Linked DNA regions of Homo sapiens: all the other regions are linked to region 3. The links are contacts of gene promoters, found by promoter capture Hi-C in human tissues and cell types (Jung and others, 2019). All regions are on one chromosome and are shown on one strand. Each heading gives the region's core, a stretch centred on a gene start or on the middle of the fragment in contact. The rest is flanking DNA. Distances are from core to core; before and after follow the strand shown.

Region 1 (3,164 bases), core at 134-2,633, 460 kb before region 3:
GCATGGCAGAGCCTTATGCTAAGGTGTTTGTCTTCTATCCTGAAGGCAATGGAGAACTGTGGAGAGATTAAGTAGGTGCAGTTTGTGTTTTGAAAGAGTGGTGTGTGGTGAAAGTGGATCATAGAGTGTGGCAAGATGAGAAGTAAAGGGATGGGAAAAACTAATCCTCCTGCAGTTTAGGGACAGGCAGGCACACATACTCCATTTTCAAAGGCATCCCAACTGTAGCAACTAAATGGTGGCAAACAAAACAAAAACAAAGCCTTAGTGCGAACGTAGAACTGTTACAGGTGGCTCACAAATGATATTAACAGTGACAAAACAACAATAATCTAATAATAATGCTATTGCTAGTTTTATTATGAAAGCAGAAGCCAGAGCTGCTGACTTTTCTAACAACTTTTGCAGGACATTTAAATCCCTCTAGCTGGCCCTTTGTTCCTGTGTTGCCATGGAGTGTCAATAAGCCCAGCTCAGAATAACCCAGGCAGTGAAATGAGAGGTACAGCTTGCTCACTGGCATGTTGGCTGGCCAGGTTACACTGTTTTCATTGCTCCCATCTTGGGAGGAGCACTGGGCAGCTGGTTGCCCTGGCAGCTGTGAAGGTGTATGTCTCTTGGCTGCCCAGAGTTCGAAACGGAACCAAAACTTGCCTGCCTACTGAGCATGTGCAGCTCCTGACTGAGCTGACAGCAACTGAAAAAAGCCCACTGAGCACCTGTCCCTTGTACACCAGCCCCTGGCCGACTGCCATTTAGGACAATGTGGACTTACTTAGTAGACAGGTGAGGTGCTGAGCAGATTTTAATGGTCTGAGGAAGATCTTGGGAACTTTGGCCCTACTTAAAAGGAAGAAAAAAAAAGCAGCAGGCTTCTGAGCAGTTCCATTTGGTGCTTCTGTGGTTAGTGGGTGGCCACACTGGCTACGTATGTACAGTATGTGCCTGAAGACTTCATATTGTTCTCCTTACAGCAGTTCAGTAAACTAAGTAAGTTTTCTCTTTGAGAGAAAGGCTTTCCTAAAAGTCTCCTAGTGGTAGCCATCCATGGTTTATACAGCCTCAGCTTTAGAAAGTTTTGGAGTTAAACTATTTTGTTTCATTTTATACCTGCTCTTTAATCCCTAGTGATTGTTAGTCATTTCTACAAGGTGTCTCTTTGCTAGATTATTATTTCTCAGTAGTCCAAATATTGGCACAAGTACAATCACAGAATAGAATCCCAGCATGTCAGGAGCTGTCTGTTCCCTTTTGGGATTTCTTCCATTTCCTTCTGGACTTTAATCTCCTCAGTAAGCTTGCCATTGTTGGACAGACTTGGTGGCCAGTGTGGATGGAAGCAGGCTCTGGAAGGAAATGCTTCTGAAATGACTGGTGGCATTAAAGCTACTATTTAAAAGTGACCCTTTGTAGATACTTGGGTTATCTTTAGGCTGTCAGTGATCTGCAGCTACAGGAGCCAGAGGGAATCTGCGGAAACTCTTGTTTGTTGCTCTCGCCTGGATTTGTGTTTAGATATTCTTGCTCCCCAGCCAGTGGCCTCGTGACACATCTCAGATTTAGCTGGCTTTCTTCTGCCAAAGTCCAAGATTATTGTGGAAACTGGGAATGGTTTGCCATGGCACAGATTGAAGGGGAGGGATTGTGTGTTTGAAAAGCCAGTTCAGCTTCACAGCACTCAAATGAGATGCTTTCTGTTTCTACCTGGAGTGTAGGCACCTGGAGCCTTTCTGTGGGCCCAGGGGTAAAAAAGGACAAGCTCAAAATGACTCAAATTTAACTGTCTCATTGTGACTGTAAGATCTTTATTCTGTGACTGATAAGCCAATCTTGTTCAATATGTTAAACCTGAGAATTAATGAATTGTTTTGGACTATATTAATTAGACTGATAGGGGAAAGAAGATATGTAAAGCAAAGATCAAGTTATAAAGGCTGGGATACAGAGGCACAGGCACATCTTCCTGGGGTTGAAGACATGGGATTCCTTTCTTCATTAACCTTTCATGGAGTTCTGGACTTGGTAGGGCCTTGGGAAATGAATGGGGAAATTGGAGGATAGGGAAGTAGCATTATCAGAGGCTTGGACTCTGCCCCAAGTTTTTACCCTTTTGACTGTTATTTTAAAATCGCTTTGGCTTCATCTAGGATGGAAAGTAAATACAGTAACCCCCTATTTATCCATGGGGAATACATTCCAAGACCCCCGGTGGATGCCTGAAACCACAGATAGTATTGAACCTTATCTATACTACATCTTTTCCTATGTCTAGGATAAAGTTTAATTTATAAATTAGGCACAGGAAGAGATTAACAACAATAGCAAAGTAAAATAGAACAATTATAACAATAGGCTGGCATCACCACTCTTGTGCTTTGGGGCAGTTATTAAGTAAAGGAAGGGTTCCTTGAACGCACCTGCAATACCATGGCAGTGGATCTGGTAACCAAGACATCTGCTCAGTGACTAGCAGGATGGTAGCATCTACAGTGTGGGTACGCTGGACAAATGGATGATTCATGTCCTGGGCAGGATGGAGCTGGACAACGTGAGATTCCATCATGCTACTCAAACAGCATATAACTTAGAACTTAGGAAATGTTCATTTCTGGAATTTTTTGCTTAATATTTTTGGACTGTGGTTGATGGTAGGTAACCGAAATAGTGGAAAGTGAAACGGTGCATAAGGGGGGATAAGTGGGGACTACTGTAGTCTGGAAGTTACTTTGTTCACTCTGTGCTTTTCTGTGGGGCAGGATAGGTTGTGGAGCTAGGGAAGGGGAGTTTAACTAAGTCAGGACATTTTCACCTTTAGCTGTGGGTGTCACAGTGCCTAAAGGCTGCATTTCAAGACTTGTTAAACAAATTGGAGCCCTGCTTAACTTTTGAAGGGTTTGTCTCTGTAGTTTGAAAGCTTCCAGAAAGGCTGTAGGGGTGTGGTGGAGGCTCGCTGATGGTAACCACAGCTAAGATTGGCAACCTTGGAGGAGGCCCAGTCCATGAATCCCAGAGAGAGAGGTAGAGTAGGAGGCAAGAAGAGAAATTGAAGTGGAGAGCTAAGCACAAAAGCCACCTGCTGGCTTTTTCTCCACTGTTCTATCTCATCTAGAGCCCATTGTTAAATGTTTCCTGTAAAACCAAAATTCTCAGTGTAGAGCCCAGGT
Region 2 (3,340 bases), core at 654-3,153, 320 kb before region 3:
TTTTGTAAGGCCTTAGAAAAGTTTTCAATTCCTAAAGATTTACGATGTTCATGTCAAAAGGCTACCTTCTTAGCTGTGTGGAGGGAGACTCACGCAAGTGTCCAAAATGGTTCTGAATTGGGAAAAGAGTAAAAGAAACCATGCTGTATGTTCAATAACAAACCAAATAGAATCTTTATGATGCAATGAACACTGTAAAGAAGAGTAAAGATTTGAAGATTTACTCTGGTTGTCTGCTGAACTACAACAAAAAAGAATATTCTTATTGCAAATGCCAGCTTTAAAAAGGACAAAAATGGGGAGTCAGGGTTAGGCCAAAATAAGGTCAATAAAGGTGTGGGGAAAAATAACTCAGGGAATAGGAAAGGAGAGACAGCAGACAAGAACAGAGGACGCATTGGTGACTACTGGCAATTTTGGAGGGATTTTAAAGTAATTTTGCATGGCTCAGTAACTTACCTGGGAGATTTTCTATCATTTCTAATATTAACAAATCTTTGACTCAACCAAGGACATAAGGGGTGAGTAAGGAGCATTAAAATCAACAACAGAGTGTCCAGAAATGGAATCAGAACAATAAACGCTTAGGGCCATTAACAGCCAGTGAAGCCACTATTATTTCTTAGGGGAACCACATAGAAGATATATGCGTGCCCTGAGCACATGAGTGTTCTCTCTAAATTGAGACTGGGGAACAGTGGCTATGAGTCAGTACCTTCACGAAGAACAGAGCCAACTTATGTTTGCCTCTTTTCACTGTGTCTTTACATTTTTTAATCATGGGGCCTCATTGAAAATCAGAAAGAGATTATACATATTCTTCCTAGAGAAGTAGTTTATATTTACATATACATATATGCACAGTGTTTTGTGAATTGATCACCCCTTCTCTAATGTTCTTGGTCATGTAGGGAAATGGAAACTGCATAACTAATAGCCAGTAACAATAGCTTCAATTAATTATGAATTCATAAAGCTGACAGTAACTAATAGCTACTATTAAGTCCTTACTGTGTTAAAGACATTATGCAAAGCCCTTCATATGCATTATCTCATTGAATCCTCACTTCTACCCTATGAGATAAACAATATTATTGACCCTCATTTTAAGGATGAGAAAACTGAGGCTTAGAGAAGTTAAGTAGCTTGCTCTACTGCTAGCAAGTGGCAAAACCCAAAATCAGACTGAGATCTGTTTGATGCCTAGCATATACTCTCAAGTACTCCCTTATGCTACTTCTAAATTACTTTTTATAGACACTTGACATCACATGTTTCAACCTGGGCTTTAAGGGATTTGTGAATCATCTGCATTTATATGCTATGTTCTATATGTGTGTATGAGTGTGTTTTTGGGGGTCCATAGCTTTCATCGGATTCCCTTAGAAGATCTCATTTAAAACAGCAAAGAATCAGTCATCTAGCTCTTCTGGGGTTTAGCTCAGAATTAAGTTAGTCGTTTACACAGTCACATCATTGGGTCACACTGAGTCTCTTCCTTCCACTCCTCTCACCTCACAGAATTGCTATTATTAAGTTGTTATGGAATCAAGTTTAAGTCTGGAATTAAGAAACTCTCCAGAAAAAGGTATACAAAATATACTACTGTATTTACTTCAGGAACATTTTTGAGTATGTTTCTTACCGTATCTTTCAGTGTCTTCAAAACAAAATTCCAAGTAATAAATTGTGTTTAGGAGAAAAAAAATCCTTATGCATAATAAAGAATACAATGGTGTTTCTCTTTACTCAAAAGCCAAAATTTCAGACTCAAATCTGCAATCCAACTTTAGTACCTATGTAGGAGTCTTTGGCCTACATGTTGCATTTTCACTTCCCCCTCAGTCATAACCATCTACTCCAATTTGTATTTTCCTTTTTCTGAATATACATACTTATATTTTATTCCATGTATTCTTATAAAGCATCTCAAATGCTTTGTGGAACAAACAGAAATACAATTAAAAATTTAACTTTTTCTCCATCTTTCTCTTCTACCATGCCATGCTTCAAAAGAGGCAGAGCTTTTCAAATTTGCAGAAATTTGTTCTTTAATACCTTAACCTTCAATGACGCAAGGAAACAATCCCCAGTTAGGACAATATAACAGACTAAAATAATATCTTCAATCACCGCTACTTTTCTTGCTGATTATTTAACTAATAGAGGAACGTATCTTGCTTCCCTCCTCCCGGACAAATACTTTTCTCAAGGAAAAATAGATTTATTTCTTTCATGATTGGATTTTCTAGGAAATAGCTGTATTGTAGCTATTTTGTGTTGTGAATAGAATGAAAGTCATATGCTTTAAACTCCAGCATTAAAGGGACGGACTTCCCTTTCAGTTGTGTACCCTTGAGTACATGAAATTGAAGTCTATCTCAGTGAAAAAATCAACACACTGGCACAGGTGTTGGCCAATACAGTGGTATCTACACATAGAGTCAACATTTTTCTTAGGAAAGAATTTTAAATTGTGTTACGCAGTTACCATAAGTAATTGGTTAAGAGTCTAAACCATGGTGCCATAGCAAGAGTCTTGGTAATGTTTTAAGTCAGGTTGAACCAATTGTGAGCTTTGCTAGAAGACTACGAAAAATCAGGGAGCACTTCAAGACAGTTTCATTGAATGTCTAGTCTAAAAACATGTATCCAGAAAATCTTACCCATAAGCTTGGCTTTAATTACCTTCTGTATAAGAGAACTCTCAAATTTTTACTTCCAGCCACATCCAATCCTCTAAGCCCTAGATCTATATAGCTACCTACTGACTTAGCTCTACTTGGCATCTACAGCCATTTCAAACTTAAGGTCGGAAAAGGAGTTTGTACACATCCAACCTGACCCTTCTCAGAGTTCCCTCTTGAGTGAATGGCATCTTTGTCCACCTAGTGCAGACATTAGAATCCTGGGGGATACCTTGAATCATTCTACTCGATTCCTACCTCCTCCTCCTCCCTTAACATAATTCTATTTTCTCCATCACCCCTGCTTATACTGGTTTCTGTTAACATCTTTTTTCTTTTCCCAGATGACTGCATAATCCTCCCAGCTAGTGGCCTAGATTTCACTCTTGCCTAGCCACAGCCCACTCTCCATACAGAAGCTAGAGTGACATTTTTAACATTTCCATCTAATTATATCATCTCCTTGCTTGAAATTCTTCAATGACTTCCCATTACTTTAAAAATTAAGACTCAAATCCTTAACATGGCCTAAAAGCTGCCTGCCTGATCTGAATACTTTTTTGGAGTCATCTCTAGCACTTTTCATATCTTGCTACATTGGCCTTATTTAGCTTCCTCTAAAACCAACTGCCTTCTTTCCTTGAGTCATTTAC
Region 3 (3,363 bases), core at 3-2,502:
TATATAATTATTTGTGTATATATGTGTATATATATAATTATTTTTATTGCGTGCTACTATTCCAAGCCAGATGCTAAGTGCTGGGGACACATGTAAGCAAGTTAAACTGGCCCCTCGCCAGATGAAACTTAGTTTGCAGTTGGTGAAACAGACATTACAGAGATAATTGTGCAGTTGCTTATTTAGTTACAACCATGAAGAATACTCTGAAGGGCAAAGACAATGTGTAACAGAGTCCTGTCCTAATCCTGGCGGTTAGAGATAGTGTAGTTAAGGAGATGATATTTAAGCTTAAAAACAGAACTTAGGGAAGCTGGTCAGCCCAGGGCTTGGGCTTGAGGAAGAGAAGGGCATTTCACATAGAAGGAGCTGTGTGGGCAAAGGCTCTGGAACCATTTTGTACTATGAGAAATCCAAAAAAGAAAAAGATTTAAAAAGGAAGGGGTGGTCAGTAGCAGTCATTTAACATAATCACCTGTTTCTCCCAAGGGCAGATTGCATTGGTCCTCTACATTTTACCAGCATTGTGTAATATCAGTATGGAATAGAAAGGATTGTAATTCTGATTGGGGGAGGAGAAACCTTCATGGCGATAATTTTATTAGGGTTTTAAAGGATCGGCTGGGCTTCAGCAGACATAAACTAGAGGATAAGAAGCTATAGACTAAGTAAATTACTCTGAAATTATAAAACTTTTGGTATTAGCAAGTTGGTAGAATTTGTTTATTTCATAGGTCCCTTCTCCAGCCTGCTGGAAGCACACCATCAAATCTGCAGCCAGAACCATTTACAGTAAAGTTGTCCTGTTTATAGGTTTTTTCCATAAGCTGTTTTATTTTTTAATAAATAAGAAACAATGCCATTGTCCTTTACAAAATAGCTGAGGTTTTACTTGAACAAAATCTGTTTGGAAATGTTAAGCTGGTTACACAGAACTAATATGCCTCAAGGTGGTCATTCTCTCTGGATTAAAGCTGTGGGACAATTGTGGCTCCTGTTACAGGGAAAATTACAATGGGCCATTATGAAAAGGGACAAAAATCTCTGTTCCCAGAGGGGGACTGACAAGCTGAAAGTCCCTCTCTACATGCCAACACAAAAGCCTGATTGCTTCAGATTGTTTGTTTATGTAAATCAAAAGGATGCCTTTAACTCTGCCAGGGAACTGGCAAGCAACAAAGAAGGTGGTGATTGGCTGGATTCTTGCTCATGGCTCCTGGCAGATCTGACAAATCCTCTTGCTTTTGCTCTAATCTCTGTCTGGATACTTTTAGGAAAAGAACCTTGTTATTATGTACTAAAGTGAATAATTTGTGCTCTTAGAGTAGGAGTTGGAACTATAGGACTTGAAGGCAAGAGCAGGTATCTTATCAAGGATCTACTCACTCAGTTTCCCTAAAGCTCTCTCTCCAGATCGGATTCAACCGCACATCATGACAGATGTTCCGGCTACATTTACCCAGGCTGAGTGTAATGGGGATAAACCACCTGAAAACGGTCAACAAACAATCACTAAAATCAGTGAGGAATTGACTGATGTGGACAGCCCCCTGCCACACTACAGGGTAGAACCCAGTCTGGAAGGTGCACTCACCAAAGGAAGTCAGGAGGAAAGAAGAAAATTACAAGGGAACATGCTGCTCAACTCATCCATGGAGGACAAAATGCTAAAAGGTAAAGTGTTTCCCTTCTCCTTAATTTTCTTGTTTTGACTTATAAATTTACCCTGGATTTTTTTGATAAACTATTATCGAAATGAGCTGGACACCCCAAAAATGTAGCCCTTTATTCTACTACGCATAGTATAAGGACTAAACCTCTGCCTCTGGTGAAATCCAGGCTGGTCTATTTGACAGCTGTGACCCCAGACAACTTTCTGTCTCCCGAAGCCTGAGTTTTTTTCACTAGAAGAAGGCGGAATAATAATAATAACTACAAGTCTAGGGTAAGTATTGGCTAAATGTTAACTACTGTATTTATTATGATTATGGACAGCCCCATATTATTTGAACAAAGAGAATTCAAAATGTTAAAATTTCCTTCTAAATATAACTGAAGTTCTCTGAATTTATGGTTCTATATCTTATATATATATCTTATATAAATATTAAAGGAGAGATTACAATCAATAAAGTGATCATTAAGTAAATAAATTGAATTGATAAAGAATGAATCCAAAGAGTGAAATAGTAAATTTTAATGATCAGATTTAAAATTAAAGACTTCTACCTAGAGTTTAAATTGATAACTTATTAACTGTTGAACAATAAATATTTTAAATGTTAAAATACTGATTTTATATTTTTTTCCTAGAAAACCCAGAAGAGAAACTCTTTATTGTTCATAAGGCTATCACAGATCTTTCTCTCCAAGAAACTAGTGCTGATGAAATGACATTCAGAGAAGGTAACAAGAACTACAGTTTTGTACACAGAAATTGTTTGACTGAGTATGGATGACAGTCTTTCCATGAAATGTTGCATGAGCGTGGGGTTGACAAAGCAATCCAGGCAATGACTTCAAATTTTCAAAGCTGCTGTAGGCAGATAAGAGAGTCTTAACTTATCTGTGGGTTCCACCTTATAAAGCATTCCAGACTGTTCAAGGCTGAGGCTGCATGGAATGGCATAGCTGATTGGCATACCAACGTGATGTCTATCTCTTAAGTTAGTCCACTGAGTCAACCCTACTTTTTGATTTGGTGTGTCCAAATCTGTGTGTGCACCTTGTGAAAGGTAAATGTTTCAAAAACGGGTCTTTCCTAAAAGTCTACAATTAACATACAGCTTTTTTTTTTTTTTTTGAGACGGAGTGTCACTCTTGTTGCCCAGGCTGGAGTGCAATGGTGCAATCTCGGCAGACTGCAACCTCTGTCTCCAGGGTTCAAGCGATTCTCCTGCCTCAGCTTCCTGAGTAACTGGGATTACAGGCACCTGACACCACGCCCAGCTATTTTGTGTGTGTGTGTGTGTGTGTGTGTGTATTTTTAGTAGAGACGGAGTTTCACCATGTTGGCCAGGCTGGTCTTGAACTCCTGACCTCAGTTGATCCACCTGCCTTGGCCTCCCAAAGTGCTGGGGTTACAGGCGTGAGCCACTGTGCCCGGCCAACATACAGTTTAAAGTAATCTCACGAAATGATTTACTTTATAGGCCTCTAATGTAAATACAAAATTGTTAACTATTTCATGTCAAAGAAAGACAGGGTGATAAAGTTAATTTTAATTGTGTTCTTTAAGAAAATGGAAGAATAAAAAGAACATTGAAGTGATTATGTTAAATTTTAAATAAACTTAATAGACTAAGAGACACAAAATCCTTTAGATTTTTCTAAGACACCTACATTTAAACAGTTCCCAAATAA

Evidence for each region. The method cuts DNA at HindIII sites, captures the fragments that hold promoters and counts their contacts. A contact is called where the count stands out against the background at its distance.
Region 1: a fragment that was not itself captured here is called in contact with the fragment with the promoter of ERMN in region 3 in 1 of the 25 tissues and cell types used here (spleen).
Region 2: a contact is called between a fragment that was not itself captured here and the fragment with the promoter of ERMN in region 3, in 1 of the 25 tissues and cell types used here (lymphoblastoid cells).

The regions. Positions count from the first base shown.
Region 1 is chr2:157,787,754-157,790,917 of GRCh38, reverse strand. All of the region lies in intron 3 of ACVR1 (activin A receptor type 1), which reads left to right. Among named protein-coding and RNA genes, the nearest start is that of ACVR1, 87 kb to the left of the region's middle. The HindIII fragment of the contact is 5,724 bases long and covers 1-3,164 here.
Region 2 is chr2:157,640,800-157,644,139 of GRCh38, reverse strand. No RefSeq gene overlaps it. Among named protein-coding and RNA genes, the nearest start is that of ACVR1C, 14 kb to the right of the region's middle. The HindIII fragment of the contact is 4,510 bases long and covers 1-3,340 here.
Region 3 is chr2:157,323,713-157,327,075 of GRCh38, reverse strand. It overlaps ERMN (ermin), which reads left to right and starts at 1,252. Exons shown (of 3, transcript NM_020711.3): 1 at 1,252-1,674; 2 at 2,314-2,406. The coding sequence starts at 1,434. RefSeq lists an enhancer at 819-1,368. The HindIII fragment of the contact is 5,881 bases long and covers 1-3,143 here.